Regions from separate parts of the Homo sapiens genome. Here all the other regions are linked to region 4. Evidence: promoter capture Hi-C in 16 types of primary human blood cells and fetal thymus (Javierre and others, 2016). All regions are on one chromosome and are shown on one strand. Each heading gives the region's core, a stretch centred on a gene start or on the middle of the fragment in contact. The rest is flanking DNA. Distances are from core to core; before and after follow the strand shown.

Region 1 (3,078 bases), core at 141-2,640, 520 kb after region 4:
CTTTATAACTGACCTTTAAGTTCATATCAGCACATTATTAATCTATTCAACAAATACTTCTTGAACACATACCATGTCCCAGGATCTACACAAAGCAGTGAATAAAATAGTCAAACTTCCCATGATTATGGCCCTCTATTCTAGACCAGCAGTAATCAATAAATCCAATAGCTACTAGATCCGTGTGGCTAGACCAAGTCAAAATGTACTGTAAGTGTAAAATACACACTGGATTTCCAACACTTAGTGTCAAAAAATAAGGTAAATATCTCACTAATCATTTTTACATTGATTACCTGTCAAAATGATACTATTTTGGCAGTATTAACGGAAGTATATTGTTACAATTAGCTTCACCTGTTTCTCTTTACTCTTTTAATGTGTCTAGTAGAAAATTTTAAATCACATATTCAGCTTATACTCTATTTCCACTGGACAGCGCTGTTCTAGATCAGGGGCTCTCAAACTTCCCTGTATGCAAAATTGTACAGGAAGCTTTAAAGATACAGATTCCCAGGCTCCATCCTCAGAAAGATTCTTATCATATTAGTCTGGACTGAGACTCTTGTGCTGACATTTCTTTTTTAATCTCCCAACTGAGACAATATACAACTGTTCCAGGGTCTGTGGAAGACACATATCTGCCCTAGCCATCTGGAATATATCCATTTGGCCATCCTCTAATGGCCATCCTCTCTGTTTGTAGTGATATTTAAATGCATTCAAAGATTGTTTGATAATTCTTCCTTCGAAAAGTGGAATTTAATTCCCCTCCTCTTCTGTGTGGAAAGGGCTTAATGACTGGCTTCTAACTAACAGAATGTGGCAGAAGTGATGGTATATGACTTCCAAGACTAAGTTATAAAAAGCATGTGGCTTCCTTCTTGCACTCTCTCTTTAATTACTTGTCCTGGGAGAAGCCATCTGCCATGTCGTGAAGGCACTCAAGCAGCCCAGTGGAAAGGCCCACTGGGTAAGGAATTGAAGCCTCCTGCCAACAGCCAGAAGGAATCAGGTGGGCATGTAAGTGAAACACCTTGGAAAAGGATCATCCAACCTCAGTCAGACCTTCACATGCCTGCAGCCCTGACCAATATCTGCAACTTCATGAGAAATCCTGAGCCAAAACCACCCGACTAAGTCAATCTCAGATTTTTTACCTACAGAGACTGATGAGATAATACAGGTTTATTGTTTTAGGTTGCTAAGTTTTAGGTAATTTTTATGCAGCGATAAATACCTAACATGCTGTGACACTGGGTCTCGCCACTCCTCATCATTTCCTCACCAAGGTCATCTGCCGATGGTGAACTGCCCCAGCAGCTCAGAGCCATTTATGAGGGTGCTGCATGGTTTTCCTTTTCCAGGTGACAGCCCAGTGGCCACAGACAACCATGTGGTTGTGAGGATCTTCCCACTAGGTGGGCACCCAGAGAGGTGCCTCAGTGCTGGCAGTCAGCAATCACATAGCCCAGCCGCCTGGGATCTGCACACTGGCTGCAGCTTTGATGCCTTGCTGGTGGCAACACAGCATGGCACTTGGTGAAAAGGCACTAGAATAACTTTCTGGGTCCTTTGAACTTTGCTAGGGGCGTGAATTTTGGCATGTCTCTACCCTCCTCCCCAGTCTGTTTTCACTCTTCTCAGCCTCCATCCTGAAACAAAGCTCCCCTTCAAAACAGGGCTGCTGAGAAACACACAAGCACATCCATGCCCATTTCTATTGTTCCTGGCTGCAAATTCCCTCTTCCTCAGCCGTTTCTCACTTCCTGCATATGTCTGTAGACCCATAGCTGCAACTGCCTATGATTGCAATTTTATCCCTACTTCTGATATTATATACATCCCAATTTCCACTTTGCCTCCCCAAACATAGTCCCACTGTCCACATCCCCTACGTTTCCTGGCACGTTGGCAGTCCTCTGGAGGAACTAGTACAATGCACACTTCTACACAGGTTTTTCTCCCTGGAGGAAGCAATGAAGGAAGCGTTATGCCAGTCTTGGTCGATTACAGAAAGAACTATTGTAGATTCATAGTCTTGGTCAAGAAATTCTGCTCTAGTTGGTTTGGCAATAATACTAACAGAAAAGTAATAATGCTTAACTTCCTTTTTTGATAGCATTATTTTAAGTTAAATTCCTTCAACTTAAAGTTCTTTAAGATTTATAAGGTAAAGAGTTAGTTTCAGCTCACTAGATCCCCCAAGTTTCTCTAAAATGAACACCTAAGTATTAACATTACTCAAATGCTTTATGGTTTTTTTTCCAGTGCAAAAGGGGAAACAAAGCTTACTTTATTCCTAAAGTGTTTTCCCCCATGTTTTTGCCTGGCCTGAAATCAGACTCATGTTCTAAAAAGGAGCGATTAAGTGCAGACTTCTGTTTTAACAGGATGTATTTAAGGCAGCCAGGAGCATTCTCCCTGCGTTAAGTTGAAAGGTCTTAATCAGAATGAAAAATTGATTACTTGTCTTGACATATGAGTCACTTATTGTCACAAGGAGCTATCCATTTAAGTGTATGATATTTCAGCTTTGCATAAATAACGTCTCCTTTCTTTTTGACTCTATAAATATGCAGGTTCAAACACAAGAACATCTGACTCCAGGGGGCTTGTGTCTGAGTCTTGAATCGTGTTGTCAAAGGATAATTCATATTTCTCCCCTCCACCCCCACTCACACACACTTTTTAAATGTTCTTCTATCCTGTGCCTCCCCCTTTACTCTCTTCCACCTCAAACAGATAATCCATGTTTTTCAAAAGGTGCCTTGTTACTGAAAGGATAACTGGAAACTCACCAGCTTGTATCTTAGGCTACTGGGCTTCACTCCTTTTAATAACAGACAAAGGAGAAGTCCGCTAATGATGTTGACCCACCTCGGCTTGTGTTTGTGTAATGTTTGAAAGAGGTTTTGTTATCGTTAGACGTTCCTGAACAATCGCTCTCAGAACATCAAGCACCGAGCAGAGCGGAGAGGTGAGAGTCAGGATCGGGGCGGGGGATCGGAAAGGCTCCCGGTCCAGTCCTCCCTGCTTGTTCAGCACCATCTACTGGGGGATTACAATGCGACTTCA
Region 2 (3,165 bases), core at 618-3,117, 570 kb after region 4:
ATGGATGAAGAAATGCATTCTGAGCTTGGGCAAATCACGCAGGACCTCTGTTTCTGCTTTTGCAAGTCTGACTTGTCAAGGGCCCCTCCCATCTCCTCAGAGAAAGCTTCCAGACATCCCTGGTCAGAATCGGAGTCTCCTTCCTCTTCTGGACCCACTTAACATGTAGTTTCTACTTCTTGTGTAACAATTATGCAGTGAACCCTGTAGTGCAAATGAGTGTGTGTGCATTTGTCTACCTCGGAAGGGTGTGAACTCCTGGAGTGTCAGGACTGTTTTCATTCATCCTTGGGTCTTGCACATGGAAGATGACTCATATTTTGCCATATCAAATTGAATTGCTTTAAAAGATTAGCTTTGGCTTATTCAGTTTATGCTCCCTAAGGTTATGTTTTTATGTACTAGTATTGCAGATTAGGAAAAAAAAAAAAACCCAGCTCATCTCAAACCCTCGTGGGTCTTTTTGTGTGACATAGAATGAGAGCTGAGCTGAGCCCAACCTCGGTTAAGAGAGTGCCTCCAGCAGTTCAGACCCAGTTCATGTCCTGAGATAAGACTGGGAGGGGCTTCCCTGGGCCCTGGGAAGAGAGGGGTTCCTACGAGATGAGAAAAGTATTCCCTTAGGTTCTCAGAGAAAATGGCAATGCTCTATGTGGACTATGCACCCATTAGAGACCCAATGCTCTATGTGGACTATGCAGCCGTTAGAGCCATTAGAGACTCTATGTGGACTCTGCAGTATTAGAGCCATTGGAGACCCGTATTTATGCAATCTAATCCTGGGTCAAATACTCATTTTCCAGGTGATGATGGACAAGTCCCTTAAGCCTTCTGATCAGCAGCTTCTTGAACTCTAAAATGGGAAATCTAATATTAATGATATCCTACAACATGGACTGTTGTGAAAACTAATAAAGACAAAGCCTTCTCAAGCACTATGAAGCATTCAGTGCTAAGTACAATGAAAATAATGTGGCCAGAGGCCTCGGGCCTGTGCCAGATGGAACCAGCTTTGGCCACTCTTTCCCATACTGCTGCTCCCAGCTGACAGAGGTTTGGCTGAAGATTCTGCAAGGACCCGTGCATCAGTATTCCCACAAGGAGCTGCAGGGCACACACAAGTGTGTGCTGAGAAAGCCCCCAAGAAAGATGGAACCCACGTGGGGGCATTGCTAATGCTGTCCCAGAAAACAAGCCCAGGGATTTTCCCAGCTCTATACATTGCTTTGTGTTTATCAGTGCTTTGACCAGCAGCTATTCATTTGTGATATGAAACTCTTAAAATAAAATCTTTTTTATTTTAGCAAGTTTTATTGAGGGAACCTGGCTGCAGGCAGGATTTCAGTCTTATATCTGCATAAAGCCTAAATTGTTGGCATGTTGAAATATTTCCTTAGAAAAACCAAGGTGTTTGATGTTGCTTAGCCACACCAATTGACTGGACTTCTCACTTCCTAACCAGTTGCCTTGGTGTTGCTTAGATGAAGCCCAGATTAATTTTTTTCTCGGTCACTTCTTATAAAATCTGAAATCTGAAAGTTCAGCCCTAACCACCTCACAAAATGGTCAGTCTTGTTCTTGACCTCATTAACAAAGGACTGTCCTTCCAACTCACACCAATCTGGGGGAGGAAATAAACCAGACAGCCCGAATGACGACAGAGTGGGATGAAATAACCCCTCCCTGGGACAATGCCTTTTCCTGTTTCTGGAGGCTCCTCCTATTCCCACACTGGCTTCTGCATCCGTTACTTGGCCAGGATCCTCTTTCACATCAAAGTGTCCCTCCTTGGGCTTCAGAAGTAGGGGCATAACCTTAGTTTCTACAGGAAGGCATTTTCATCCCAAAGGAAAGGGAAAAACCATGTGTTTGGTTGCTATACAATTACAAGCCACTTTCCTTGTTTTTCATTTTACAGTCGTGCACATGAAAAGTATAGGCAGGCTTTTAGCTACGATGGGCCAAACATTTGGTTCCTAGACTTCTATAGTTTGAGCTGGAAACATTAAAATAATTAAACTGCAGCCATTAGTCTTCATGAATAATATTAAATGCCTGAGTCAGGAAAAGTTTTAGGAGAGGATACGATTTTCTTTTTTACTTCAAAAACACATGAAAGGGCATAATCTGGACAGATATTTAAGGAAGAGAGGTTGAAGAATGCCATGCATTCCATCTCAGACTAGGCTATGGGGACTCTACGTGGGAGGTCTGGATTTAAATCCAGTTTTGAATGACTGAATGTAATCGGTGATGGTAGGGCACTACAGCTTTCCCAAAGCTGTCAATTTGTGTCATTATCAAAAGCACTTATTTGGTACCTAATATGTCTATGCATGGCAGATGTTTAAATAGGAATGTCCCTGCCTTTCTGGGGCCTCTGATCTAAAATGGTGCAGATACTCTTGGAAATGGGGTAAATAGCAGAACCTTGGGTGGGAGAGAGCATGTCCAGTAGTATTTTTTTAGTGTGTAATTAGGGTGGGAGAGACTAGAAAGTTTTAACTGGTGGAGAATACAATTCATCATCACTGGAAGGCGACCCTGTAGAAGAGTATCACATTTGGGGTGTGGGAGCTGTTGATCAAAAGATAGCATAATTTTCAGCCAGGCGTGTTGGCTCATGCCTGGAATCCCAGCATTTTGGGAGGCTGAGGCAGGTGGATCACTTGAGGTCAGGAGTTTGAGACCAGCCTGGCCAACATGGTGAAACCCTGTTTCTTTTTTCCTTTTATTTTATTTATTTATTGTTTTGGAGACAGAGTCTTGCTCTGTTGCCCCGGCTGGAGTGCAGTGGCATGATCTCGGCTCACCGTGACCTCTGCCTCCTGAGTTCAAGCGATCCTCCTGCCTCAGCCTCCCCAGTAGCTGGAATTACAGGTGTGTGCCACCACAATAGGCTAATTTTTGCATTTTTGGTAGAGACAAAGTTTTCCCATGTTGTCCAGGCTGGTCTTGAACTCCTGAGCTCAGCCAATCTGCCCACCTTGGCCTCCCAAAGTGCTAGGATTAAAGGCGTGAGCCACCTCACCCGGCCTGAAATCCCATTTCTACTAAAAATACAAAAGTTAGGTGGGCATGGTGGTGCATGCCTGTAATCCCAGCTACTGGGGAGGCTGAGGCAGGAGAATTGCTTGAACCTGGGAAGCAGAGGTTGCAGTGAGC
Region 3 (3,228 bases), core at 38-2,537, 540 kb after region 4:
TGTTTTGTACTATTGGCCTACTTGCTTGCTTGCTTTTCCATGCATTGCAATATTTGGGAATGGATTACAAAAGATGCTTGGATAAGTAGCACTGAAAGCTGTTAAAAACAGAACATCAATTCCGGAGTATGTTTCTATTTGGATGCACATGAATGAAATAATTGAACTCTCAAAGTTCTTTTCATGCCCTTAATTCAATGAAGCAATTCCTGAAGCAACACATTCACATTTCGTAGCCGATTTACATGTTTCCTTTTGCTAGCCTTCTCTTTTGGACTAAGTTTTCTCCTTACTAATGTCAGTTCAAACTGGTGAGACTTCAGACAAGTGGTTTCTCAATCCTGATGGCACAATAGAGTGATGTGGGGAACTTTAGAAAAGTTCTGATGATCCAGCCCTGCCCCTAGAGACTGTGATTCAATATTTTGAGTGTATATGAACCACTTGGTTATTTGGTTACTGTGTCATCAAAGCAGGTTAAAAACGAGGGGAAAAGCCATTTTTTCTTCAGCCTGGCTATCTTGACAACTAACAAATTAGTTTTTACCCCCAAAAGAAAAGAAAAGTGAGACCAAAGATATTTTTACTTTTAGTAAATAAAGTGCATCAATTCTCAAAAGGTGCTTGGCCCTTTAAATGGCACGGCAATGCATAAAAAGACAGTTGGGTGAGGCTACATGCCCTTCATATCCATTTCAACACCTACCTCGGGTCCCAAAATAAATATTTTTAATATTGTCTCATTCTGGACTGTTCCAACATGCACTATATCAGCTTGTCTGCATATTCTAATGTAACCGCGAACAAGTTTCCAGCAGCTCATGTATTTTCAACAGACATTAATTCCTCATTGCATATATTCCACCTTTGAAAATTACACCAGCAAAAGATTGCAAGATGTAGTACTGACCAGCACAGTATTCATGAGGGGTGAAGATCCAATCTATGGTAGGGAAAATACTGCAGTTTTCCACACAGTAATTACAGCTAAACTCAATTATACAAGCTAAACTCAATTATACGAGCTAAACCCAATCCTGTTCCCTGGTTTCTTCCTGGTTTCCAAGGATGTGGTGTGATATACCTTAGGGCCATTTGTCAGGGATCCTCAGGGTTGTTGGTGGATATGGCTATTTTCCTTCTTTCATTTATCTCAAAGAAGTAGATGAGGCAGAGGAATGAGGGAGGGGCTGCTTTTTAGTACATTGTATTCTTCCTCCAGTTCTGCTAACAGGAAGGTTGAACGCAGCCCTGCAGGAAATTCTCCTTTTGCCACTAAGCCCTTCTAGGGTCAAGGGTGAGAAGACAAGGGATCAGTATCACTAACCCCTATCTGTGCTGCCTCGGTCAACCTTCTGTTTCTGGGTTTCCACACAGAATTCTATAGCATTAAGAGTCTTTCTCACCCAAATAAGGACATTTTTAAGGTTGGTTTAGTCTGGGTGGAACACAGAGAGAAAAAAATTGAGTTAAAAAATAAAATAAAATAACCTCCATAAAATTTTTCTTATGAATCTGGATTTTCAAAATTATACCACAGCATTTTCTCCTTTCAGCATTCTCTTCTCGCAGTTGGTATAAAATAAGCAACAATATCCTCCTTTGTAGCCTCTCTTCTCTGTGTGTAGCCCTTGGTTTGTGCAGAGGAAGTTTTAACCCTCTATGAGGTGAATGCCAGGAATCGTTTTAGGATGATTTACCAGAAGTCAGCCAGGAAGCTGACATGGGCCTGTTTGTAAAGGAAGAAGTACAGAGCCAGGGTATTTTGTGTCACTGTGAGAATGTACATTGACCTTTGTTAGAGAAACAGTTAATATTATTATTCCATTATCACACTTTCAAATGAGAAATTTAACCTCACATTTGTCCACTCTTACATCCCTCATGGCACAGTAAAGAGCCTTCTCTGGTTTAGTGCAGAACCACTAACTGTTAAAAAGGTGAATGAAGCTGCTCCCCAGTCCCCGCTTTCCCTCAGCTTCCTTCGCAAGCACAGACAAGATCAGTGGTTTTGTTATGGTCACCCAGCGACGCGAGCTTGGAACCAAGTATCTTTTTTGGTCCTCATAGTGTTCATTCATTCCCTAAACTACTCCTTTTTCTTCTGGGAAACAGACATTTTAAATTGTAAGCTACTAGAAGACAGAGACTGTGTATTTTAACCTGTCTGGTAAAATGCCCAACTCAAAGCAATGGAAAATACCAACCTGGAAGACAAGAACCCCAGAATCTAGGCTTGACTCTGCCACTAACCCTTGCAAGTCATTCTGCACAATGAAGGAATTGGATTATATGAAATCTAAGGTCCTTTTTGTTATAGCTCTAGGCTTATGCACCTGAGAACTATTCATCAATGACGTGAACTGTCAAACACCACTGTGGAGCCTTTCCATCACAGGTACAGCTACCGCCCCGCTCTTCCTCCGCCCTGCCCAGCACACACTGCTCAGCTTTGAGAGACTCCAGCTCAGCTCAGAAACCATAACTGGCCTTATTTTTATTGCCTCTATTCAAGGCTATAGGACTTCATCACTACTATGTGTTTTGGCTATGTTTTCTCACTCGTGAGAGATGAAAAAACAATTGCCAGCCAGGTGCAGTGGCAGTCTCCTGTAATCCCAGCTGTCAGGAGGCTGGGGTGGGATGATTGCTTGGGTTCAGGAATTCGAGTCCAGTTTGGGCAGAAAAAAAGAAAAATGGTCATTTTCTAAATTTACATTCAGAAACTCTAGCAATGGTGTATAGTTCTAGAGAAAAGGGTGTTCTCAAGGGAAGAGATACAACGGTGTTGTTGTATTTATTCATTCATGTTTTCAGAGCCTTTAAAAGAATAATGTGCTTGTTATTTAAAAGGTTCTGATATTCGGAGAAAACAAATATCATCAGGGTGCACTGGCTGTACTGGTTTTTGCTCCAAGGGCAGGAAACAGCTTGGCCAACTTGAGAATAAAATATGCTTCTCCTCAGCAGCTAAGCTTGTTAGCCTCCCCTTCTGATGGGAGGAACAGCATTGCATACATAATGTAGACATGCCAATGCTTGCTCTTTTTCCAGAGATTTTAAATATTTCTCCCAAGTTTTAATCCCACAAATAGATTCCAAAATAGAAAAAAAGATTATGTTCCAATGTTTCCACCATCTTTGTCCCTCAATTTTTTTTTTTTTCCTAGCAGACATTACCCACGTATACCCTCAGGGAAAGGAAAGCTCTCATCCCATCAACTTTTT
Region 4 (3,127 bases), core at 610-3,109:
AGCATTCCACAAGTTACTTCCTCCTTCCTTTGTTCTCCTCTGCCTTTGCCTCTTTTAAGAATTTCTAAGTTGCTAGCCAATCAAGACAAATACAGAATGTGAAGTCCCGTTCTAGCCAATGGAAACCAGTCACAACAGTAAGGTGGACGGGTCAGGTTATAAATGACCCTGCCTCCTTTGTTCGGTGTACTCTTGTGGCAAAACTGCTGGCGAGTGTACTCTTTCCGCAGAAAGTAAAAATGGCCTTGCTAAAGAAATTAATTTTATGTTCAAGTGCTATTTCTTTACGGCACCAAGAAATAAGCATTTCTAGCAGTCCTTAACCGCCATAATGCCCTAAATTAGACCATGACCAATTGGACTCAAATACTTTGAACTATCTTTATTGCCTGAACTTTGAATTGTTTAATTTTGATCAGTTCAGTTTGTGGAGACTCCTGTTAAGGTGTGTACCTCAGTTTATTGCTATACTCCTTCTCGTGGCCATAATAGTCTCCCTGATGTGTTGTTGTCCCCTCGAGAGTCTTCAATGTCTCTATGCAGCCATCCTTTGTACACCAAATGGTGTTATTACAGTTAGAATAACAACATGAAGAAAGTATAATCACTCAACTAATTTGACATTGTGACTTCCATACTGAGACAAAACAAGGTTCTGGTCAATCTCGTAAAACTGAGAGGCTGACCCAAAGGAGGAAACTGTTATTAAATTAAATCTGGCCTAAAGTTGCCTCCCTACCTAGCAAAGCATAATCAAACCTAATATGTAAATAAACTGCAATGTAATTTGAGAGTACGTTCTTCTAACAAGTGGCCAAGTCTTGGCCAATCACCGCAGCGGAGCTTTTAGCCCATTACAGGCTGCAAAAAATATTGTCTATAAACGCGGCTTGCCCACTGTTAGGGGCTGGAGCTCTCTGAACCTTTACTGGCTCAGGATACTACATGATTCATGCTTTCTTTGCTCAGATAAACTCTGCTAAACTTGTTTGAAGTTTTTTTGTTAACAATATTTAAACATAAAGCAAATAAATTAATAAGAATCCTATATCACTAAGTTACAGTAATTAGAAAGTATTCACCTGAGTGAGAAGATTGGCCAAGCTGCTATCCAGTCTTCCATTATTTGACAAGACATTTCTTTCCTATGCTTTCTAATAGTATTCGTTATTCCAGAAAGGTTGCTCTATGACCTTAAACCGTCCACATGTTCACTGCACTGATAGACGTCCAACGTCAAGATGGGTAACTAAAGGTCAACTCTCTCTTTACCTTCCCTGAGCCTGATTTTTGCATTGTAACTCATGGTCACTAGACATTTGTTTTGGGTGTTCGCAGTCTACATTTATTTCCCTTTTAGGGGAAACAATCACTGTCCACGGGATTAAAATAATCCCGAGTTGATTATTTGGTGACATCAACCAACGGTGCACATTTTGGGTCCATTACCAACACAGCCAAGCAGCACATATTTCTTCAGAGCCTAGATATGCACATGTCATCAAAGGATAGCATTTTACAGAGTCAACACCACTCACTTCATAGAACAAGGGGCCAGTGGCTTTTCAGAAGAAGGGTCTGTTCTCGGCCCCACACCAGAACGCCAGCCGCCAGGTCCCGCTGCTCAGCAGGTCTCAAGCCCGCGCTCACTCGGGCTCCGGCTGCTGACAGCTGCGAGCCCGCGCGTGTATACCCGCTCAACGCTGGGACGTTACAGCCAGGGCCAATGGGCAGAGCGGGACTCGAGGCCCCGCCCCCGCCTTGTGGCGTCACGGGGACGCCGGGGGCGCGCGGGCTGCAGGGCCGCGTAGGTCCCCGCCCCCAGAGTCTGGCTTTCCGCGGCTGCCCGCCTCGCGCGTCTTCCCTGCCCGGGTCTCCTCGCTGTCGCCGCCGCTGCCACACCATGGCCTTCGTCACCAGGCAGTTCATGCGTTCCGTGTCCTCCTCGTCCACCGCCTCGGCCTCGGCCAAGAAGATAATCGTCAAGCACGTGACGGTCATCGGCGGCGGGCTGATGGGCGCCGGCATTGCCCAGGTGAGCGGCCCTCCCTGCAGCGTGCCCACGCGCTTGGCCGCCCACCCTGAGGTGGAAGCTCTGGCGCGACCGGCCGCGAGGGGCCTGCACCCGCCCGACACCAGGGAGTTTTCACCCCGCGCCTCCCGGGTGTAGTTGAAATATCTCGCGTCTGGGCCTGTGAGGGCCCAAGTCTCACTCCCCTCAAAATTCAGGGTTCTGGGCCGATCCTCAGCTTCCTCGTTTGGAAAATTCTGGCTGCCCCCAGGGCCCGCTGAAGGTTCCATGGAGAGTGGCGGTGAATGCATTTTGGAAGCGGGCCGTGCAAGAGAAGAAAGAATTGTATGTGCACAAGGTTCAGGCATAACGCGTTTGTTCCTGCTCGGCTCAAACGGGAGTTTGCTGCCAAAGACATGAACTGCGATCAGTTTTAATTCTATCAGTTATTTTTGATTTTTATTCTGTAATTGTGCAGTCTTTGTCAAAGTAGTTTTCTCTCCTAAACGGCCTCCCGGCTCTCCCCGGTCTTTCCTTCGCTTGCTAGGTTGTAAAGAATAGTAGTAGTCATGACTTTTGTAGCACTTTGTAAAGTCACCTAATGGAAGATTGCTGAGGTCCTGGTTTTGACCTTTGAAATAGTGCCGTCTGTGCAGAGTTCTGAGCTTGCGATTTTGGCGCTGCAGCGGAATAAGTCTCTCTCTTTTTTTTTTTTTTTTTTTTTTTGAGTCGGAGTCTCTTTGACCCAGGCTGGAGTGGAGTGCAATGGCGCGATCTCGGTTCACTGCAACCTCCGCCTCCCGGGTTCAAGCGATTCTCCTGCCTCAGCCTCCCGAGTAGCTGGGATTACAGGCGCCCCGCCCGGCTAATTTTATATTTTTAGTAGAGACAGGGTTTCACCTTGTGGGTCAGGCTGATCTCGAACTCCTGACCAAAGGTGATCCGCCCGCCTGGCCTCCCGAAGTGCTGGGATTACAGGCGTTAGCCACTGCACCCAGCCGGAACAAGTCTTTTATCCATTGTACATCTTCAGGGCTTTTCCATTGTTCTGCTGAGCTGTGGTTCAGGCTCAGTTGTGCGAGTGATTGATTACCTGGCTACTGTAATGCTTGTACT
Region 5 (3,010 bases), core at 145-2,644, 700 kb after region 4:
TTCGTGCTTTGGTGTATTTTATAATCTGGTTATGTTTTTCCAAAGCTAATGCAGTGTCAGGATCTGGAATTTTATTCCGTTTGCAAGCTAGTAAGCTAGCCTATTACTATTTCATGGATACTGGCAGAAGACATGAGACTTCTGGATCAGAGAGAAAGGACTTTATTACTCACAATGGAGCAAGTAAAATGAGTTTTATGTTGGCTTTGGTTTTCCAACACACTTCAAGTCCCACAGGGGCAATGCAGAAAGGCCTATGTTGATGTTTACACATAGCTGGTTCGTGTGGCAGCCAGGGAGCACTAAGCTTAGGGAATATGCTGCTTTTATAGTAAGCAAACCTGCTGTCTGTCTGGAGGGAGACATTATCTTATTCCTCAAGGTTGCTTGCTGCAAGCATGATCCTGAGCAATGGTCTGGGTAAAGATCAGTCACGGCCTTGCATGCTTTACATACCCAGCAAGAAGTTGTGAGGATGCTCAGGGCCCATGGTGGATTGCCTTTCTCAACGTATACTTAGTTGGTAAAGCATTTCAAGGTTGGCATAATTAAGTGGATCACTTTTAATGCTATGTATTACTTTACTGACATTGTGCACACAGTTTCATTATATACTTTATCGTTTAGTATTATTTTTTGATATGTGAAATGAATTAGTTCAGCTTCTTAGATAGTGCCATGTCTTTTGCCATTTCATTTACTGAAATGAGTTCAGATTTATATCAAATGGCTGTACCTACCTATATGTTTATTTTTTATTTTCTTGCTATATTCATTGCCATGCAAACTGTTTTAAAAATCCAGGTAATGGCATTAGCCTTTAGTAACAGTCAGTAATATATAGTTATGAAGCATCACAGTACATCTGTTTGAAGCCTTATAAAAGTTGTTGAGTTTCTGCAAATAACCGAACTTTGTCCCAACATTTTAAACTCTTTTTTAGTCTCAGGTAGTTTATGTAATTCTTATAAAATCTCTATCTGAGACTATCCCTACAACACTTACTATGTCCGTCATTACAACCCCCAGCTTTTTTCCTAGCCAAGTATTTGTATCTTATTTAAAATATTATACTTGAGTGTAGCTATATCCTGGTCAAGAAGAAAATTAATTTCTCTACTTTTCCTCCATATCCCACAACATGCAAGATGTCAGATGTTTATTCTATATGACTAGTATCATGGCCACTGCAAGTTAGGTAGGAATAGCATTGCAGCTCTTAATGAAAGAGCTGTTTCAATTAGCACAGCCTAACCGGGCAACTGGAACTTGAGCCCCTTGCATTCTCTCTCTCTCTCTCTCTCTCTCTCTCTCTCTCTCTCTCTCTCTCTCTCGGTACTGACACTTACTTTGGATTTCAGTTTGTTGAGTGAGTTCGTGCTTGCTGTCTTTCCTTTATGAGGCTGTTAAGCTCCTTGAGGACAGAACCTGGTTTTGCACAACCCATTGTACAGAGCAGAGTGTGCACATTGTAGGGGTTAAGTAAGTCTTGTTTAAAGGTTGTTTGTATTATTTGCTTATCTTTTTACTTTTATTGTGGACATTTTAAACATAAGTAAAAGCAAAGTTAATAGTACTAATAAACCTCTCCTTACCCATTGCCTAACTTCTCCTGTTATCAACGTATGGCCAGTCTTGTTTAATCAATGTATACCCTCATTCCTCCGCTCCCAACCCAGGTTGATTTGAAGTAAATCCCAGATGATAAGATATGTATTTATCTGTAAAGAAATATATATTTTTGAATAATTATATTTCTTAGAATATAGCTATTAGGCCAAAATTACAGTATTCCATAAATACCAGTCACGTTTGATAAATTGATATGAAAGGGAAGTCATTTAAGTCTAGCTCAAATACTATAATTCTGATCCCATTTAAATTACATTATTATTCTTCTCTTGACATGTTTACTTGTGAGAAAAAAGTATTACTACCCAACTTTAGCCAGCCACTTCTGTTTTTGAAGGTTTTTTGTTGCCTTAGACATAGCTGAAAATTTTTCCTCTGTGACAATCTTGATGTGACAGTTTCAACAGGCTGTAAATGAAGTGACCCTGACACTCCTCTCTCAGGACACATCAATGTGGGACATGTTCTTTATTGTTTGTGAAGAACTGATGGTTCATCTTTTGGAAAAACACAAACCAGCTGTCAAAAGGCCTTTATTTGTGCAATAGTTCAGATTACAGCACCATTGGGCAACCCCTGTGAAGGATCATCCACTTTAACTTTCTGAGATGCTGGTATTTCATCACTTTTGCTGAGGTTCCAGGTGGTTTGGTTCTCTGGAACTGACAATGGCCCCTTACCAGGTATGTTTTTGGATATAGTGATTGCCATGCTGCTTCCTTTTGTAGTCGGGGGGGCGGGTAAAAATTGTGCTGCTGGTGATCATAAATAGCATTAGTTCATAAAATAACAATTGTTTCTGTTTTTTTGAACTAGGTCTGCTTCTGATTCGAATAAGCAGAGTGAAAGAAAAGCTTTCTTCTCAGTGCACCTGGGCAGTCCCATATGCCAAGAGGCCATGGAGGACAACGGTGAAGCATGGGGATTCCAGGGTCAATCTGGGTTTTAATTTGCCCTCCATCACCTATTTGCTATGTGAATTGGGCTATTTGCTTGACTAGTCAGTGCTAAATTTCCTTTCCTGAAATAAGGGGTAATCATAATACCTGGATCATAGGTCATTGGTGGGTTAAATTTATTTATTCAACAAACATTTAAAGGATGCTGCTAATTGTCAAGTATACTTGCAGGCCCTGGCAATATAACAGTGAGCAACCATAGGTTCTTAAACTCTTGGAGATTACATTCAAGATTATATATATATATATATATATGTGTGTGTGTGTGTGTATATACATATGTATATATATACATATACACATATGTGTGTGTATATATGTATATATGTATGTATATACACACACACATATATATGTGTATATATATAAAATATATACACATATATATGTGTATATAAAATATATATATACACACATCT
Region 6 (3,200 bases), core at 86-2,585, 680 kb after region 4:
GATCCTTATAAAACAATGGAGGGTGTCAGAAATGGTAGATATATGGGTCAATGCAAAAGGCTTTTTAATTTTTTTCCTGATTTCTTTTTAATACATACAACTTTATAGTAAGAATAACAACTGTATCTTGTTGGGTTTATAATGTACATAGATGTAATACATATAAACATGATAGCATAATGATTAGAAATGGGATTTGGGCCTACAGTTGCAAGGTTGTATTATAGTACATAATATATGTTATTATTATATATAAATATATATATATATTTGAGACAGAGTCTCTGTCATCTAGGCTGGAGTACACTGGCATGATCTCGGCTCACTGCAATCTTTGTCTCCTGGGTTCAGATGATTCTCATGCCTCAACCTCCTGAGTAACTGGGATTAGAGGTGCACACTGCCATACCCAGCTAATTTTTGCATTTTTAGTAGAGACTAGGTTTTGCCGTGTTGGCCAGGCTGGTCTTGAACTCCTGACCTCGAGTGATCTGCCTGCCTTGGCCTCCCAAAGTGATGGAATTACACTGTGCCCAGCCTCACATAATACAAAATTGAGAAGAGGCAGGAAAGGAGGAATAAAAACAAAAAACAGAGGAGACAAATAGAAAACAATAAAATGGTGGGCTCAAACAACCATATCCGTAATTATATTAAATGTTAGGGGATTAAACACTTTAACTGAAAGGTTAAGATTGTCAGGATGGATAAACACACATATACATAATTGTATGCTGTTTATGAGAGACTTACTTTTCATATAAAGACACAGCTCAAAATAAATGGGAAAAGAGATACACTATGCAAACCGTAGCACTAGAAGTTTGGACTGACTATACTAATGTCTACTAAAATAGATTTCAAAACAAAAAGTATCCCCAGAGATAAAATGTATATTTCAATTTCATAATGTCAAAAGAGTGAATTTAGCAGTAAGACATTACAATAATAGATTTGTATGCAGCTAATAACAGACCTTCACCATATACAAAGCAAAAATTGACAAAATTGGAGAGTGAAGCAGTTTCAGAGTTGAATATTTTTACATTTTCTATTTAGAAATTGATAGAACAACAAGACAAGTCATTAACAGGAACCTAGAAGACCTGAATCACACTATCGACCACCTTGATTCAACTTACCTTTTCAAAACTCTACACCCAACAATGGGTGTGCACATCATATGTTTACCATGATAGTCCGTAAGATTGGCCTTAAAGCAGCTGTAATACATTTGAAATGATTGAAAAAAGTTAATCTACCTGAGGATAGACAAATAGGTCAGTAAAACAGAGAAGAGTCCAAAAATTGATGCACACATATATGACCCATTGACTTGGTAAAAGTTCCAAGGCAATTCAATGAGGAACAAATAGCTTTTTTTTTTTTTTTTTTTGAGACAGAGTCTCTCTCTGTTGCCCAGGCTGGAGTGCAGTGGCATGATCTCAGCTCACTGCAACCTCTACCTCCTGGGTTCAAGTGATTCTCCTGCCTCAGCCTCCTGAGTAGCTGGGATTACAGGTGCCTGCTACCATGCCCAGCTAATTTTTAGTAGAGATGGGGTTTTGCCATGTTGGCCAGGCTGTTTTCGAACTCCTGACCTCAGGTGACCTGCCCACCTTGGCCTCCCAAATTGCTGGGATTACAGGTGTGAGTCACCGCTCCCGGCAAGAATAGCCTTTTTAACAAATGGTGCTGGGGCAATTGGATAACCATATGCAAAAAAAAAAAAAAAAAAAAAAAAAACTTCAACGCTTACCTCACCATTTACAAAACTTCATGAATGACATGGATCACAGACTTTAATATAAGAGCCTGAATCATAATACTTCTAGAAGAAAACATGGATGAAAAATGTAGTGACCTTGGGCTTGGCAAAGATTTTTAAATATGATACACAAAAGCATAAGCTATAAATGAAAAGAACATCAATCAACTAGACTGGATTAAAATTAAAAACTTTTTCTTTTCAAAAGATACTGTTAAGAAAATTAAAAGGCAAGCCTCAGGCTGTTGGAAGATACTTGCAAAATATATATCTGACGAATGACTTCTATCTAGTTGTATATGGTTGTGGGGGTGAGGTCTGGGGAGAAGAGTGGGAGGTATGAGAGGGAGGAGTGACAAAAGGTCATAAGGAAACTTTTTTGGGTGATGGATATTTTCATTTTATTTTACTTTTTTTTTTTTAAAAAAAATGTAGGCTACCTTGGTAGTTTATGAAGGAAATCAATAGTATTAAAAATTGGATGTAAAAAATGGATACCATCAGAAACCCATGGATGAAGAGAATGGGAAGCTGCTCATTAAGATCAATTGAACAGGATGCCTCAGGGCATCACCAGGGCCCCAGCCCCTTCCAGTAGCTAAAAATGCAAAGAAAAAGATAGAAGAAGGAAGGAAGGAAGGAAGGAAGGAAGGAAGGAAGGAAGGAAGGAAGGAAAGGGAGGGAGGGAGGGAAGGAGGGGAGGGAAGGGAGGGAGGGAGGGAAAGAAGGAAGGAAGGAAGGAAGGATTATAATACTTAAATTATACTTACAAATTATTTTTCCTGAAATAAGAGATTTGAAACTATTTTGAAAGATCATGTAGTAACCGGAAAAACTGACCGAAAACGATGGACTCCAAGATATATCTTAATAAAATTATTTAAAATTTTAAAATACAGGGGATATTATAAACATACGCCAAAGATTATCCCCCCATATGCCAAGCTTTTCATTAACTTGACTAAAGGTTACAAGTATAGTACTAGGATCCTCTCCTGAATGGACACAGGCCCAGCTGCCTTTTAACCGAGAGAGGTTGGGTTCTATCTGTGAGGAGGCACTGAAAACATTACTGGGCTGATCAGTTCCCCTCAGCTGGCTTTCTAGATGACAAAAATTCTTTTTAATTCACATAGTCTACCAGTCTGTGGGACTTGAAAATAGCCAAGGGAATTCTGGGGAGATAAAAAACGGTCTTGTCTTGACACAGCTTATCAAAGAGCAAAACTCTGGGCTCTATTCAGAAAGTATAGTACTCTATAAATTTAGTTATCTAAGTAAAGTTGAGGAACGTGCCTATGAAGTACCATTTCAAGTGAAGACCAGCTATAACTTCGCATATATACTCATTAGTGAATATAGATTTTAAAAATAGGATGCCACATGGCATCTTTTCCTGACTTTATTAACAGTAGTGTTGGAAGTGCTCTTT
Region 7 (2,960 bases), core at 240-2,739, 600 kb after region 4:
TATTTATTTATTTGAGGTAGAGTCTAGCTCTGCCGCCCAGGCTGGAGTGTAGTGGCGTGACCGCAGCTCACTGCAACCTCCGCCTCCCAGGCTCAAGCAATTCTCCTGCCTCACCCTCTCAAGTAAGTGGGATTACAGGCGCATGCAACCACATCCAGCTAATTTTTATATTTTTTTAGTAGAGACGGGGTTTCACCATGTTGGCCAAGTTGGTCTTGAACTCCTGACGTCAAGTGATCTGCCCACCTCGGCCTCCCAAAGTGCTGGGATTACAGGCGTGAGCCACTGTGCCCGGCCACCAGCTAATTTTTGTATTTTTTTTTTTTTTTAATTTTACTTTAAGTTCTGGGATACATGTGCTGAATGTGCAGGCTTGTTACATAGGTATACATGTGCCATGGTGGTTTCCTGCACCTATCAACCTGTAATCTAGGTTTTAAGCCCTGCATGCATTAGGTATTTGTCTTAATGCTCTCTGTCCCCTTTCCCCCGACCTCCAACTTTTGTATTTTTAGAGGAGACAGGGTCTCATCATGTTGCCGAGGCTGCTGTCGAACTCCTGAGCTCAAGCAATCCACGCACCTCGGCTCCCAAAGTGGGCCACCGTGCCTGGCCAAACAAAGCTATTCTTTTTTTTTTTCGAGACGGAGTTTCACTCTTGTTGCCCAGGCTGGAGTGCAATGGCACAATCTCGGCTCACCACAACTTCCGCCTCCCGGGTTCAAGCAATTTTCCTGCCTTAACCTCCCAAGTAGCTGGGATTACAGGCATGCGCCACCATACCCAGCTAATTTTGTATTTTTGGTAGAGACAGGGTTTCACCATGTTGGCCAGGCTGATCTTGAACTCCTGACTTCAGGTGATCCACCTGCCTCAGCCTCCCAAAGTGCTGGGATTACAGGTGTGAGCCACTGCACCCAGCCCAAACAAAGCTATTCTTAATAACCTCAGAGAGACTGGGTGCAGTGGCTCCCGCCTGTAATTCTAGCGCTTTGGGAGGCCAAGGTGGGCAGATTGAAAGGCAATGGAAGGGCACCGTGGAACAATAAGGCGGAGAGGCGAGACTAAGAGGGCAAAAATCTTCTTTCTTGAGCTCTCAGGCGAGGTTCACTGGTCCGCAGGGGGAGGGCCAGGGAAGTCGCACTGTGCCAAAGGTGCAGCGCGCTTTTATGGATGCTGGGTGAAGAGTGGGCGGGGTAGGGGCGGGGTCGGTTGAGTTTCGCGCTTCTGAGTGTGACACGCCCTAGTGGGCATGCGCGTTAGTCAGGGTGGCGGGAACAGGAAAGGTGAACCCGGAAATGCTGAATCAGGGTATCCGAGGTGGCGATCGCCATCTTGGAGTCTTCACTGGAGTCCAATCACAGATCACCTGAGGTCCGGAGCTCAAGATCAGCCTGGCCAACATAGTGAAACCCCATCTCTACTAAAAATAGAAAAAATTACCGGGTCGTGGTGGCATATGCCTGTAGTCCCAGCTACTCGGGAGGCTGAGGCAGGAGAATCGCTTGAATCCAGGTGGCAGAGGTTGCAGTGAGCCGAGATCTTGACACTGCACTCCAGCCTGGGTGATGGAGCGAGACTCTGTCTAAAAAAAAAAAAAAAAATTCTGAGAGAAAATATTTCCTTTGTGAAAATAGAAAATGATGCTATGTCAAAAGAAAATTCAGAGAATTAAAAGAGCAGCTAATAGCTGAAATGAAAAATTCAACAGAAGAGTTGAAGATAAAGTTCAAGAAAGTGTTAAGAAAACAGCAAAAAGACAGACGGAAAATAGAAGAGAAGATATAAGAAAAATAAAGGGAGCACACCTGAAGGTCTCACATATGAGTAATAAGGGTTCCAGGAAGAGAGCAAGGAGAAAATGAAGCAGAAAAATCATTAGTAAAATAATTTAACAAAAATTTTTCACAACTGAAGACATGAATTGCTAGATGAAAAGGGCCCACCAAGTGCTCCTGCAAAATAGATTCTAGTAGAGCTACATTGAGCAACATCACTGTGAAGTTTCAGAACACTGGGGACAGAGATCCTATAAACTTGCAGAGAGAAAAATAGACTACTTAGAAAGGACTAGGAATCAGAATGCCTTCACACTTCTCAGCTACAATAAGACAAGAGAAAGACCTTCAAAAAAAATTTTTTTTTTTGAGATGGAGTCTCACTCTGTTGCCCAGGCTGGAGTGCAATGGCGTGATCTTGGCTCAATGCAATCTCCACCTCCCAGGTTCAAGCGTTTCTCCTGCCTCAGCCTCTCGAGTAGCTGGGATTACAGATGCCCATCTCCACGCCCAGCTAATTTTTGTATTTTTAGTAGAGACAGGGTTTCACCATGTTGGCCAGGATGGTCTTGATCTCCTGACCTCGTGATCCACCAGCCTTGGCCTCCCAAAATGCTGGGATTACAGGTGTCAGCCACCATGCCCAGCCGACCTTCAAAATTTTTCAGAGTCCAGGCACAGTGGCTCACACCTGTAATCCCAGCACTTTGAAACACAAATATGGGAAGATCACTTGAGCCCAAGAGTTTAAGGGTGCAGTGAGCTATCATCATGCCATTGTATTTCAGCCTGGGCAATAGAGCAAGACCCTGAAAATGTCTTTGCTAAATTATAACAGTAATAGAAATCCACCTCAGTTGACTCCATTTTGCTTCTAACCTTCAAACTGTCCTTGGTCATTCCCGGGTGTAGTCCAAGCTAACTTTGGGAGAAATTTAGTTTGTATTTTAACTTTAAAACAAGGATGATAATAGTCCCTCCCTAAAACTAAGCCCTTCCAGCCGGGTGTGGTGGCTCATGCCTGTAATCCCAACATTTGGGGAAGTCGAGGTGGGTGGATCACCTGAGGTGAAGAGTTCGAGACTAGCCTGACCAACATGGTGAAACCCCATCTCTACTAAAAATACAAAAAAATAGCCAGGGGTAACGGTGGATGCCTGTAATCCTAGCTACTCGTGAGGC

The links. Contacts are between HindIII fragments. The CHiCAGO score rates a contact against its expected background, and 5 or more counts as called.
Region 1: a fragment that was not itself captured here is called in contact with the fragment with the promoter of HADH in region 4 in 5 of 17 cell types (non-activated CD4 T cells, activated CD4 T cells, naive CD8 T cells and 2 more); the score reaches 13.4 in non-activated CD4 T cells.
Region 2: a contact is called between a fragment that was not itself captured here and the fragment with the promoter of HADH in region 4, in 9 of 17 cell types (non-activated CD4 T cells, total CD8 T cells, activated CD4 T cells and 6 more). The highest score is 9.8, in non-activated CD4 T cells.
Region 3: a fragment that was not itself captured here is called in contact with the fragment with the promoter of HADH in region 4 in 10 of 17 cell types (non-activated CD4 T cells, naive CD8 T cells, activated CD4 T cells and 7 more); the score reaches 17.0 in non-activated CD4 T cells.
Region 5: a contact is called between a fragment that was not itself captured here and the fragment with the promoter of HADH in region 4, in 1 of 17 cell types (naive CD8 T cells). The highest score is 5.6, in naive CD8 T cells.
Region 6: a contact is called between a fragment that was not itself captured here and the fragment with the promoter of HADH in region 4, in 2 of 17 cell types (naive CD8 T cells and activated CD4 T cells). The highest score is 7.3, in naive CD8 T cells.
Region 7: a contact is called between a fragment that was not itself captured here and the fragment with the promoter of HADH in region 4, in 13 of 17 cell types (non-activated CD4 T cells, naive CD8 T cells, total CD4 T cells and 10 more). The highest score is 21.3, in non-activated CD4 T cells.

What each region holds. Positions count from the first base shown.
Region 1 is chr4:108,510,292-108,513,369 of GRCh38, forward strand. No RefSeq gene overlaps it. Among named protein-coding and RNA genes, the nearest start is that of RPL34-DT, 110 kb to the right of the region's middle. The HindIII fragment of the contact is 1,795 bases long and covers 494-2,288 here.
Region 2 is chr4:108,559,090-108,562,254 of GRCh38, forward strand. The region is part of intron 1 of RPL34-DT (RPL34 divergent transcript); the gene reads right to left. LOC101929621 (a long non-coding RNA gene) reads left to right here. Exons shown (of 2, transcript NR_134679.1): 2 at 804-1,303. Among named protein-coding and RNA genes, the nearest start is that of RPL34-DT, 60 kb to the right of the region's middle. The HindIII fragment of the contact is 3,526 bases long and covers 105-3,165 here.
Region 3 is chr4:108,529,962-108,533,189 of GRCh38, forward strand. No RefSeq gene overlaps it. Among named protein-coding and RNA genes, the nearest start is that of RPL34-DT, 89 kb to the right of the region's middle. The HindIII fragment of the contact is 3,371 bases long and covers 1-2,973 here.
Region 4 is chr4:107,988,030-107,991,156 of GRCh38, forward strand. HADH (hydroxyacyl-CoA dehydrogenase) reads left to right here and starts at 1,860. Exons shown (of 8, transcript NM_005327.7): 1 at 1,860-2,035. The coding sequence starts at 1,904. RefSeq lists a silencer at 1,627-1,856. The HindIII fragment of the contact is 11,946 bases long and covers 1-3,127 here.
Region 5 is chr4:108,688,771-108,691,780 of GRCh38, forward strand. No RefSeq gene overlaps it. Among named protein-coding and RNA genes, the nearest start is that of OSTC, 40 kb to the left of the region's middle. The HindIII fragment of the contact is 2,179 bases long and covers 306-2,484 here.
Region 6 is chr4:108,672,238-108,675,437 of GRCh38, forward strand. No RefSeq gene overlaps it. Among named protein-coding and RNA genes, the nearest start is that of OSTC, 23 kb to the left of the region's middle. The HindIII fragment of the contact is 2,752 bases long and covers 1-2,711 here.
Region 7 is chr4:108,593,227-108,596,186 of GRCh38, forward strand. The region is part of intron 1 of RPL34-DT (RPL34 divergent transcript); the gene reads right to left. Among named protein-coding and RNA genes, the nearest start is that of RPL34-DT, 26 kb to the right of the region's middle. The HindIII fragment of the contact is 7,816 bases long and covers 1-2,960 here.